Linked DNA regions of Homo sapiens: region 2 is linked to region 1. Evidence: promoter capture Hi-C in 16 types of primary human blood cells and fetal thymus (Javierre and others, 2016). All regions are on one chromosome and are shown on one strand. Each heading gives the region's core, a stretch centred on a gene start or on the middle of the fragment in contact. The rest is flanking DNA. Distances are from core to core; before and after follow the strand shown. Region 1 holds the start of S1PR4 (sphingosine-1-phosphate receptor 4). Region 2 has its middle 9.7 kb from the start of ZNF57.

Region 1 (4,160 bases), core at 1-2,500:
GAATCCCAAAATGGGCGCCTGGCCCCGAGACCCTACCAGCTTGTCCCTGGGGGTCTCTCTCCCTGGACCTGTGTGTCCTCCCATGGGCAGAAAGTTGGCCTCAGGCCGCCTTTGTGGGCCTCAGTTTTCCCTTCTGTAACGCATCAGGCTCTCTGGGCCTCAGTTTCCCCTTCTGCAACGCATCGGGCTCTCTGGGCCTCAGTTTCCCCTTCTGCAACGCATCGGGCTCTCTGGGCCTCAGTTTCCCCTTCTGCAACGCATCGGGCTCTCTGGGCCTCAGTTTCCCCTTCTGCAACGCCTCGGGCTCTCTGGGCCTCAGTTTCCCCTTCTGCAACGCATCGGGCTCTCTGGGCCTCAGTTTCCCCTTCTGCAACGCCTCGGGCTCTCTGGGCCTCAGTTTCCCCTTCTGCAACGCCTCGGGCTCTCTGGGCCTCAGTTTCCCCTTCTGCAACGCATCGGGCTCTCTGGGCCTCAGTTTCCCCTTCTGCAACGCATCGGGCTCTCTGGGCCTCAGTTTCCCCTTCTGCAACGCATCGGGCTCTCTGGGCCTCAGTTTCCCCTTCTGCAACGCCTCGGGCTCTCTGGGCCTCAGTTTCCCCTTCTGCAACGCCTCGGGCTCTCTGGGCCTCAGTTTCCCCTTCTGCAACGCATCGGGCTCTCTGGGCCTCAGTTTCCCCTTCTGCAACGCATCGGGCTCTCTGGGCCTCAGTTTCCCCTTCTGCAACGCACCGGGCTCTCTGGGCCTCAGTTTCCTCTTCTGTAACGCATCAGGCCCTGTTTCGGGGATCAAGTCGGATGAGTCAGTGCTCAAGGGCATGCAGGCACTTGACATTTATTAGGCACCTGCTGTGTGCTGAGCGCCGGTGGAGCATGTGGGGAGACCTCAGTGGAGCCGACGGGTGCTTCGGGGGTGATCAGGGCTGGTGGGGAGGAGTCGTCCGGCTGGAAAGGGGTGGCCCATCCCGAGTGGGGACTCATTTCCCCTCCGTGACTGACGGCTCCGGGGCTCCCTGCGGGTCTCCGGCTTTCGAGGACAGGAAGAAGGCAGCCAGGGCAGGGGTGGGGGTCCTCACAGCCAGGGCAGCCCCAGCGCGTTGGCTCCAGGAGCCCGGGTGGGGGCCGACCGTTGGGGTGCCCCTCCCTGTCCTCGGCCTTACCTCCACCCTGGAGGGCACCTTGAACATAACAGGAAATTTCAAATAACAGGAAACCAAGACCAGCAAGGCGGGTGGCTCCACCCTGCGTCGGGCCTCAGTCAGCCCCCGGGGGAGGCCATGAACGCCACGGGGACCCCGGTGGCCCCCGAGTCCTGCCAACAGCTGGCGGCCGGCGGGCACAGCCGGCTCATTGTTCTGCACTACAACCACTCGGGCCGGCTGGCCGGGCGCGGGGGGCCGGAGGATGGCGGCCTGGGGGCCCTGCGGGGGCTGTCGGTGGCCGCCAGCTGCCTGGTGGTGCTGGAGAACTTGCTGGTGCTGGCGGCCATCACCAGCCACATGCGGTCGCGACGCTGGGTCTACTATTGCCTGGTGAACATCACGCTGAGTGACCTGCTCACGGGCGCGGCCTACCTGGCCAACGTGCTGCTGTCGGGGGCCCGCACCTTCCGTCTGGCGCCCGCCCAGTGGTTCCTACGGGAGGGCCTGCTCTTCACCGCCCTGGCCGCCTCCACCTTCAGCCTGCTCTTCACTGCAGGGGAGCGCTTTGCCACCATGGTGCGGCCGGTGGCCGAGAGCGGGGCCACCAAGACCAGCCGCGTCTACGGCTTCATCGGCCTCTGCTGGCTGCTGGCCGCGCTGCTGGGGATGCTGCCTTTGCTGGGCTGGAACTGCCTGTGCGCCTTTGACCGCTGCTCCAGCCTTCTGCCCCTCTACTCCAAGCGCTACATCCTCTTCTGCCTGGTGATCTTCGCCGGCGTCCTGGCCACCATCATGGGCCTCTATGGGGCCATCTTCCGCCTGGTGCAGGCCAGCGGGCAGAAGGCCCCACGCCCAGCGGCCCGCCGCAAGGCCCGCCGCCTGCTGAAGACGGTGCTGATGATCCTGCTGGCCTTCCTGGTGTGCTGGGGCCCACTCTTCGGGCTGCTGCTGGCCGACGTCTTTGGCTCCAACCTCTGGGCCCAGGAGTACCTGCGGGGCATGGACTGGATCCTGGCCCTGGCCGTCCTCAACTCGGCGGTCAACCCCATCATCTACTCCTTCCGCAGCAGGGAGGTGTGCAGAGCCGTGCTCAGCTTCCTCTGCTGCGGGTGTCTCCGGCTGGGCATGCGAGGGCCCGGGGACTGCCTGGCCCGGGCCGTCGAGGCTCACTCCGGAGCTTCCACCACCGACAGCTCTCTGAGGCCAAGGGACAGCTTTCGCGGCTCCCGCTCGCTCAGCTTTCGGATGCGGGAGCCCCTGTCCAGCATCTCCAGCGTGCGGAGCATCTGAAGTTGCAGTCTTGCGTGTGGATGGTGCAGCCACCGGGTGCGTGCCAGGCAGGCCCTCCTGGGGTACAGGAAGCTGTGTGCACGCAGCCTCGCCTGTATGGGGAGCAGGGAACGGGACAGGCCCCCATGGTCTTCCCGGTGGCCTCTCGGGGCTTCTGACGCCAAATGGGCTTCCCATGGTCACCCTGGACAAGGAGGCAACCACCCCACCTCCCCGTAGGAGCAGAGAGCACCCTGGTGTGGGGGCGAGTGGGTTCCCCACAACCCCGCTTCTGTGTGATTCTGGGGAAGTCCCGGCCCCTCTCTGGGCCTCAGTAGGGCTCCCAGGCTGCAAGGGGTGGACTGTGGGATGCATGCCCTGGCAACATTGAAGTTCGATCATGGTACGTGATGTTGCGGCCTCTTATTCCCTGGTGCGTGCATGCGTGGGGGCCGTGGCTCAGGGGGGCTGTGGATCTAGGGGCAGCCGGGTGTGTCTTTGCTAGAGAGGGCCACGGGCCAGTGCCCTGTGAGGGTGGAGTGTGTGTGTGTGTGTGTGTGTGTGTGTGTGTGTGTGGACAACCTCTGGGCGTTGCGGGAAGTGGGGGTGACAATGACAGTTAATGCCGCCTCTTCTTGTTCACTTCCCCTTTAGAAATGGCAGGGCCCATGCCCCATCTCTGGCCTCTGCATCTTTTGGGGACCCACTCTCTGGGGCTGGCAGAGGCACCACCTTGGCTTCCTGGGCTGGGGGAATCTTCCCTCACATCCCCTTCAGCATGAACGGCCTCGGCTTTCCCGGTGGGTAAAACAGTTTAATCACTGAAGCCGAAGCACAGGGTTGATTGTACACGCTCCCCGCCAGCCACAGGGGCTGACAACTGCCTGCCCCGTGAAACTCCAGTGGAGACGTTTCAGCTCCACACCATTCAGTATGGGAGACGCCAGCCCCACGGGGCTACGGTGCAAGCAGATAACTGAATTTCGAAGTGTAGGTTGTGTTTAATTTGAATCTGTTTATATTTCGGTAGCCCCATGGGGCGGGTGGCCACAGTTTCAGTGCAGATGTAAATCCGGAAGCCTCCAGCACCTGCAGCTCATAGACAGCTCTCGCCCACCTTCTCCCAGGACCAAGCCAGTCCCGTCCAGTCCAGTGTCTGAGCAGAGTCAGAATCCACACCACCCGCCGCCTGGGCTCAGAAAGTTCTGCTTTAAGTCATTATTTCTCCACTGTACGATGGGGAATGCGGTGTGTGGGGGCCATTTACCCACCAACACAGCAGCTGTGAGGCACACACGGCTATTGAAAATTCATGGAAATTGCTGGGTGTGGTGGCTCATGCCTGTAATCCCAGCACTTTGGGAGGCCGAGGCAGGAGGATTGCTTGAGTGCAGGAGTTCCAGACCAGCCTGGGCAACATAGCGAAACCACATCTCTACAAAAAAATCCTCCAAAATTAAAAAAATTAGCCCGAGCATGTTGTTGCATGCCTGTGGTTCCAGCTACTCGAGAGGCTGAGGTGGGAGGATCACTTGAGCCCGGGAGGTCGAGGCTGCAGGGAGCGGTGATCGTGCCAGCCTGGGTGACAGAGTGAGACCCTGTCTCTAAAAAAAAATTAAAAAAAAAAAAAAAAGAAAATTCATTGAAATTAAATGAAAGTTAGGCCAGGTGCATTGGTTCATGCCTGTAATCGCAGCACTTTGGGGGGCCGAGGTGGGTGGATCATGAGGTCAGGAGTTCAAGACCAGCCTG
Region 2 (5,264 bases), core at 25-2,524, 290 kb before region 1:
AGACCACCCCCCCCATCTCTAAAAAGAAAAAATAAATAAAAATTAAAAAAATGCTAAGTTGCTACAACGTCTTTGGAAAACTGTGCCTTTTGCATGGCTCGGTATGTTTAGATACACAAATCCTTATTGTGGTGGAGCCCCTTCCTTCCGAGCTTTCCGGAAAACCAACGACACAACTCCCCAAACAGGAAGCACAACCCGCTTGCACCTGTGCACCATGCTCGGTTGGAGCTCCCAGCTGCCTCCAGGGCACAGCGGCTTTGGAGGAGGGGCCGCGTTGCATGCTGGGAGCAATCTGAGGGGCGGGACCCTAGCGTTTAAGGGCTGTCCTTTTTTGAACCACATTTCCAAAGCGCTCGGGTTCCCCGAGTGGTGCCCCAAGCAGTGGACGAGCAAGGTGCCCGAGAAGGAGGGGACCACAGACACCGCCTGGTGTCCACGGACTACCAGGAAGCCAGGGGGCGGTGGCCTCCGTGGGGAATGCGCATGTGCGGTCCCGAGCCTCAGGCTAGCGTTCGGGACTAGAGTGGGGCGTCGCCGCCGCATGTTGCACCTGTCGGCAGCGCGGCCTCTCCCGGATGTGACGTAGCGTGACGCCTGCAGGATTGATGCTGAAATGACGAGGTGGCAGCGCCGGTTCCTGTAGCTGAGGGGTGTGAGTTCGAGGTCTGATTGTCCTCGTTTTCTACTTCCGGTCACCTCACTGCCACATGGCAGGCCTCCAGGGGAATACGCTTAAGATGAGACACCTGCGCATCTCTCTTTTTTTTTTTTTTTTTTTTTGAGACGGAGTCTCGCTCTGTCACCCAGGCTGGAGTGCGGTGGCGCAATCTCGGCTCACTGCAAGCTCCGCCTCCTGGGTTCACGCCATTCTCCTGCCTCAGCCTCCCGAGTAGCTGGGACCACAGGCGCCCGCCACCACGCCCCGCTAATTTTTTGTATTTTTAGTAGAGACGGGGTTTCATCGTGTTAACCAGGATGGTCTCCATCTCCTGACCTTGTGATCTGCCTGCCTCGGCCTCCCAAAGTGCTGGGGTTACAGGCATGAGCCACCGCGCCTGGCCTCTTTTTTTTTTTTTCTTTTGAGACAGAGTTTCGCTCTGTCACCCAGGCTGGAGTGCCGTGGCCTCATCTTGGCTCCCTGCAACTTCCACCTCTCAGGTTCAAGCCATTCTCCTGCCTCAGCCTCCCGAGCAGCTGGGACTACAGACGCGCACCACCACGCCCAGCTAATTTTTGTATTTTTAGTAGAGACGGGGTTTCACCATGTTGGCCAGGCTGGTCTCGAACTCCTGACCTCAGGTGATCCACCCACCGCGGCCTGCCAAAGTGCTGGGATTACAGGCGCGAGCCAGCACACCCGGTCACACCTTTGCATCTCTAGGCAAGATTCGTAGTCAGAAGACACAAAACCAGACTTGGAATTCCTGATTTAGGGTTGAAATGGCCTCAAGCCTGGGAATACGTGCAGATACCTAAGGACTGGAATTCCGCCCAGGATGACCCTCAAAGGGAAGTTCACGTTTCAGACCTACGGTGTGTGCAGAGCTCAGGCCCCAGGAACTTGGGGACAGAGGTGCCTTCTCGCTTCTCTCTGAATCTGTGTCTGAGGTGAGAGAGGCATGGCCCTGGTGGCCTTTCTTAATTTCAGGTTGGGTTCCAAGAAAGCAATGACGGCTCGCGATTTCTTCTTTCTCACGCCATTCTCTGTTCGGTTGCCAAGGAAGTGGAAAAAAATTGGTTTTGCTTATCTAAAAAGGTTCAGGTGAGTTTATTTTTATTATTTATTTATATGTATTTATTTTTTGAGATGGAGCCTCGCTCTGTCGCCCAGGCTGGAGTGCAATGGTGCAACCTCTCTGCAACCTCCGCCTCGCGGGTTCAAGCGATTCTCCTGCTTCAGCCTCCTGAGTAGCTGGGATTACAGGCATTCGCAACCACGCCCAGTTAATTTTTGCATTTTTAGTAGAGACGGGTTTCACCGTGTTGACCAGGCTGGTCTTGAACTCCTGACCTCATGTGATCCACCTGTCTCCGCCTCCCAAAGTGCTGGGATGACAGGCGTGAGCCACCATACCTGGCCGACTTGCTGTTTAATTCAGCAAAAAGGTGTTGTATTTCTGCTTTGCTGTGACATGTATCGGAAAATTGAGCATATGGAAATAATGAGTGTGAAGAGCAGCATGTGCTCCTGTTTGGGCATTATGCCTCATTAGAAAAAAATCTGGCCTTTCCGGAGGTTGCAGTGAGCCGAGATTGTGCCACTGCACTCCAGCCTGGGTGACAGGGTGAGACTCAGTCTCAAAAACAAAACAAAACAAAAACTACCATCTCCTATAAAAGGGCATTAAAATTTTCCAAAATTTGGGATTTTGAACACCGTCCCAATTTAGTATCAAAGTATTTTTGAGAATGCCAAATATCCTTTGATACTAAATTGGGACGCTGTTCAAAATGACACAGTGTCTGCAGCTCACCTTCATTATTCCTAGACTCTCCCTTACCATCCACAGCTCTTCTTGCATCTACCGGATCACCAAGAACTTGCACAGCTATCATTCTGCTTGTAGGAAAGGGCACATGCTGGATTAAAACCGTGCAGATGACCACATCCTTTTACAAACCAGGGGCAACTCTGTGGCTTCCTAGGCTACAGATTCTCTCAGACTACACTAGCAGCAAATTGAGAAGGCCACCTCTTTAATACAATTTACAATTCATTCAAAAGGACTCTATAAACAGCCACACTTGATGGCCCGAATAACTGGTGAGACTCTGGTGACCTTTTCACTTCATAGGTACATATCATATTACCTAAAGCTTTTGAGCATTGCAAAAATAAAGATGGACCGGCCAGGCATGGTGGCTCACGCCTGTAATCCCAGCACTTTGGGAGGCCGTGGCAGGCAGATCACGAGGTCAGGAGATCGAGACCATCCTAGCTAACACGGTGAAACCCCATCTCTATTAAAAATACAAAAAATTAGCCGGGTGTGGTGGCGGGCACCTGTAATCCCAGCTACTCAAGAGGCTGAGCCAGGAGAATCACTTGAACCTGGGAGGCGGAGGTTGCAGTGAGCCACGATTGCGCCATTGTACTCCAGTCTGGGCAACAGAGCAAGACTTCATCTCAAAAAATCAATCAATAAATAAAGATGGACCATGAGAGTTTTATTTTGTAGGAAATTATTACTCTGTTAACTCCATGAATGCAGGACTGGGTATCACTCCACACTATTTACAAACACCCTGAGCAGTCCCTGTGATAGTGTTTACTTAACACATACTGAGTGATGGAAATATAAATTAATAAATACATCCTCATTCTCCAATGCCCCACCATCCATAGAAAAAATGCAAAATACGTCCCTCTGTTTTCCCGATTATCTCCCTTGTGGATTATTTTCTTCCAAGACCCATTTTTTTTTTTTTTTCGGACGAAATCTTGGTCTGTCGCCAGGCTGGAGTGCAGTGGCAGGATCTCGGCTGACGGCAACCTCCACTTCCCGGGTTCAAGTGATTCTCCTGCCTCAGCCTCCCCAGTAGCTGGGATTACAGGTGCCTGCCACCAGGCCCGGCTAATTTTTGTATTTTTAGTAGAGACGGGGTTTCACCATGTTGGCCAGGCTGATCTCGATCTCTTGACCTCATGAACCGCCCACCTCAGTCCCCCAAAGTGCTGGGATTACAGGCGTGAGCCACCGCGCCTGGTCCCCAAGACCCGTATTTTTTATATCAAGTCTCTACTTGTTACATTAAAATCTTTACTTTTTAAAAAAAATCTCTTTTCCCAGAAAAATACACGCCCTCGAACTGCGAGGACTTATTCTATATTGAGAGCCTGCTGTGTCTTGATTACTTTTCAGCCTAATTTTTTGTTTTGAGCTTACAATGCCTGGTATATAAGAGAGGCTCAAAAAGTAGGATCAGGTTAAAATCATGGTCTTTGGGCTAGAAGGAATTTTTCTTTTCTTTTCTTTTCTTTTTCTTTTTCTTTTTTCTTTTCTTTTTTTTTTTTTTTTGAGACAGAGTCTTTCTCTGTTGCCCAGGCTGGAGTGCAGTAGCACAAACTCGGCTCACTCCCGGGCTCAAGTGACTTTCCTGCCTCAGCCTCCCAAGTAGCTGGAACTACAGGCACATGCCACTGCACATGGCTAATTTTTGTATTTTTTATAGAGATGGGGTTTCTCCATGTTACCCAGGCTGGACTTGAGCTGCTGAGCTCAAGTGATCCGCCCACCTCAGCCTCCCAAAGTGCTGGGATTACAGGCGTGAGCTACTATACCCAGCCTACGAAGACTTGTTCTGAATCCTGATCCTACCTTATAACTTGCTAGCTTTGTAATCTGTAAGTCTGTTACCCACAAAAGGAGACAATAAATGTATCTACATTATAGTTTTGGAAGATTAAGTGAATTTATATATGTTCATTGAATTATAGGAAACAAAACCATACCAGATATATGGTAAGCAATATTCAACTCTTTACATGGAAGGAAAAATCAGCCCTTGAGAACTGGGACCTGGCCTGGCATTCGTCCCACGCCACATGATTCTGTTGAACAGCAATGATTTTACACCACCCCGACATCAGATGGGGCCACGGGGTGAGAATGAGCAAAGCAAAAACAAGAGTGCAGGGAAGTTCTCCAGGTGGCCTGAGACTGACCCAATCTTCCCCACTCTTGACTGTAGCTCTCAAGAATAACTAGAATGTACTGGGAATGCAGCCGGGCACGGCGGCTGATGCCTGTAATCCCAGCACTTTGGGAGGCCAAGGTGGGCGGATCACCTGAGGTCAGGAGTTCGAGACCAGCCTGGCCAACATAGTGAAACCACGTCTCTACTGAAAATACAGAATTGGCCGGGCGTGGTGGCTCACGCCTGTACTCCCAGCACTTTGGGAGGCCGAGGCGGGCGGATCACGAGGTCAGGAGATCGAGACCATCCTGGCTAACACAGTGAAACCCCGTCTCTACTAAAAATACAAAAAATTAGCCGGGCATGGTGGCGGGCGCCTGTAGTCCCAGCTACTCAGGAGGCTGAGGCAGGAAAATGGCATGAACCTGGGAGGCGGAGCTTGCAGTGAGCCGAGATTGCGCCACTGCACTCCAGCCTGGGCGACAGAGCCAGACTCCATCTCAAAAAAAAAAAAAAAAAGAAAGAATGTACTGGGAATGCAACATTCCGAGATAAGCGGGGAGCTGGCTAGAACACTCAGGTTCTGCTCTAGTCCCCGCAAGAACAGGATGTTCTGCTTTAGC

The links. The method cuts DNA at HindIII sites, captures the fragments that hold promoters and counts their contacts. A CHiCAGO score of 5 or more calls a contact.
Region 2: a fragment that was not itself captured here is called in contact with the fragment with the promoter of S1PR4 in region 1 in 1 of 17 cell types (total B cells); the score reaches 5.3 in total B cells.

What each region holds. Positions count from the first base shown.
Region 1 is chr19:3,177,519-3,181,678 of GRCh38, forward strand. It overlaps S1PR4 (sphingosine-1-phosphate receptor 4), which reads left to right and starts at 1,251. Exons shown (of 1, transcript NM_003775.4): 1 at 1,251-2,814. The coding sequence starts at 1,275. The coding sequence ends at 2,429. RefSeq lists enhancers at 1-115, 1,699-2,348, 2,389-2,568, 2,609-2,838, 3,449-3,498 and a silencer at 919-1,468. The HindIII fragment of the contact is 14,219 bases long and covers 1-4,160 here.
Region 2 is chr19:2,888,579-2,893,842 of GRCh38, forward strand. No RefSeq gene overlaps it. Among named protein-coding and RNA genes, the nearest start is that of ZNF57, 9.7 kb to the right of the region's middle. The HindIII fragment of the contact is 3,088 bases long and covers 1-2,818 here.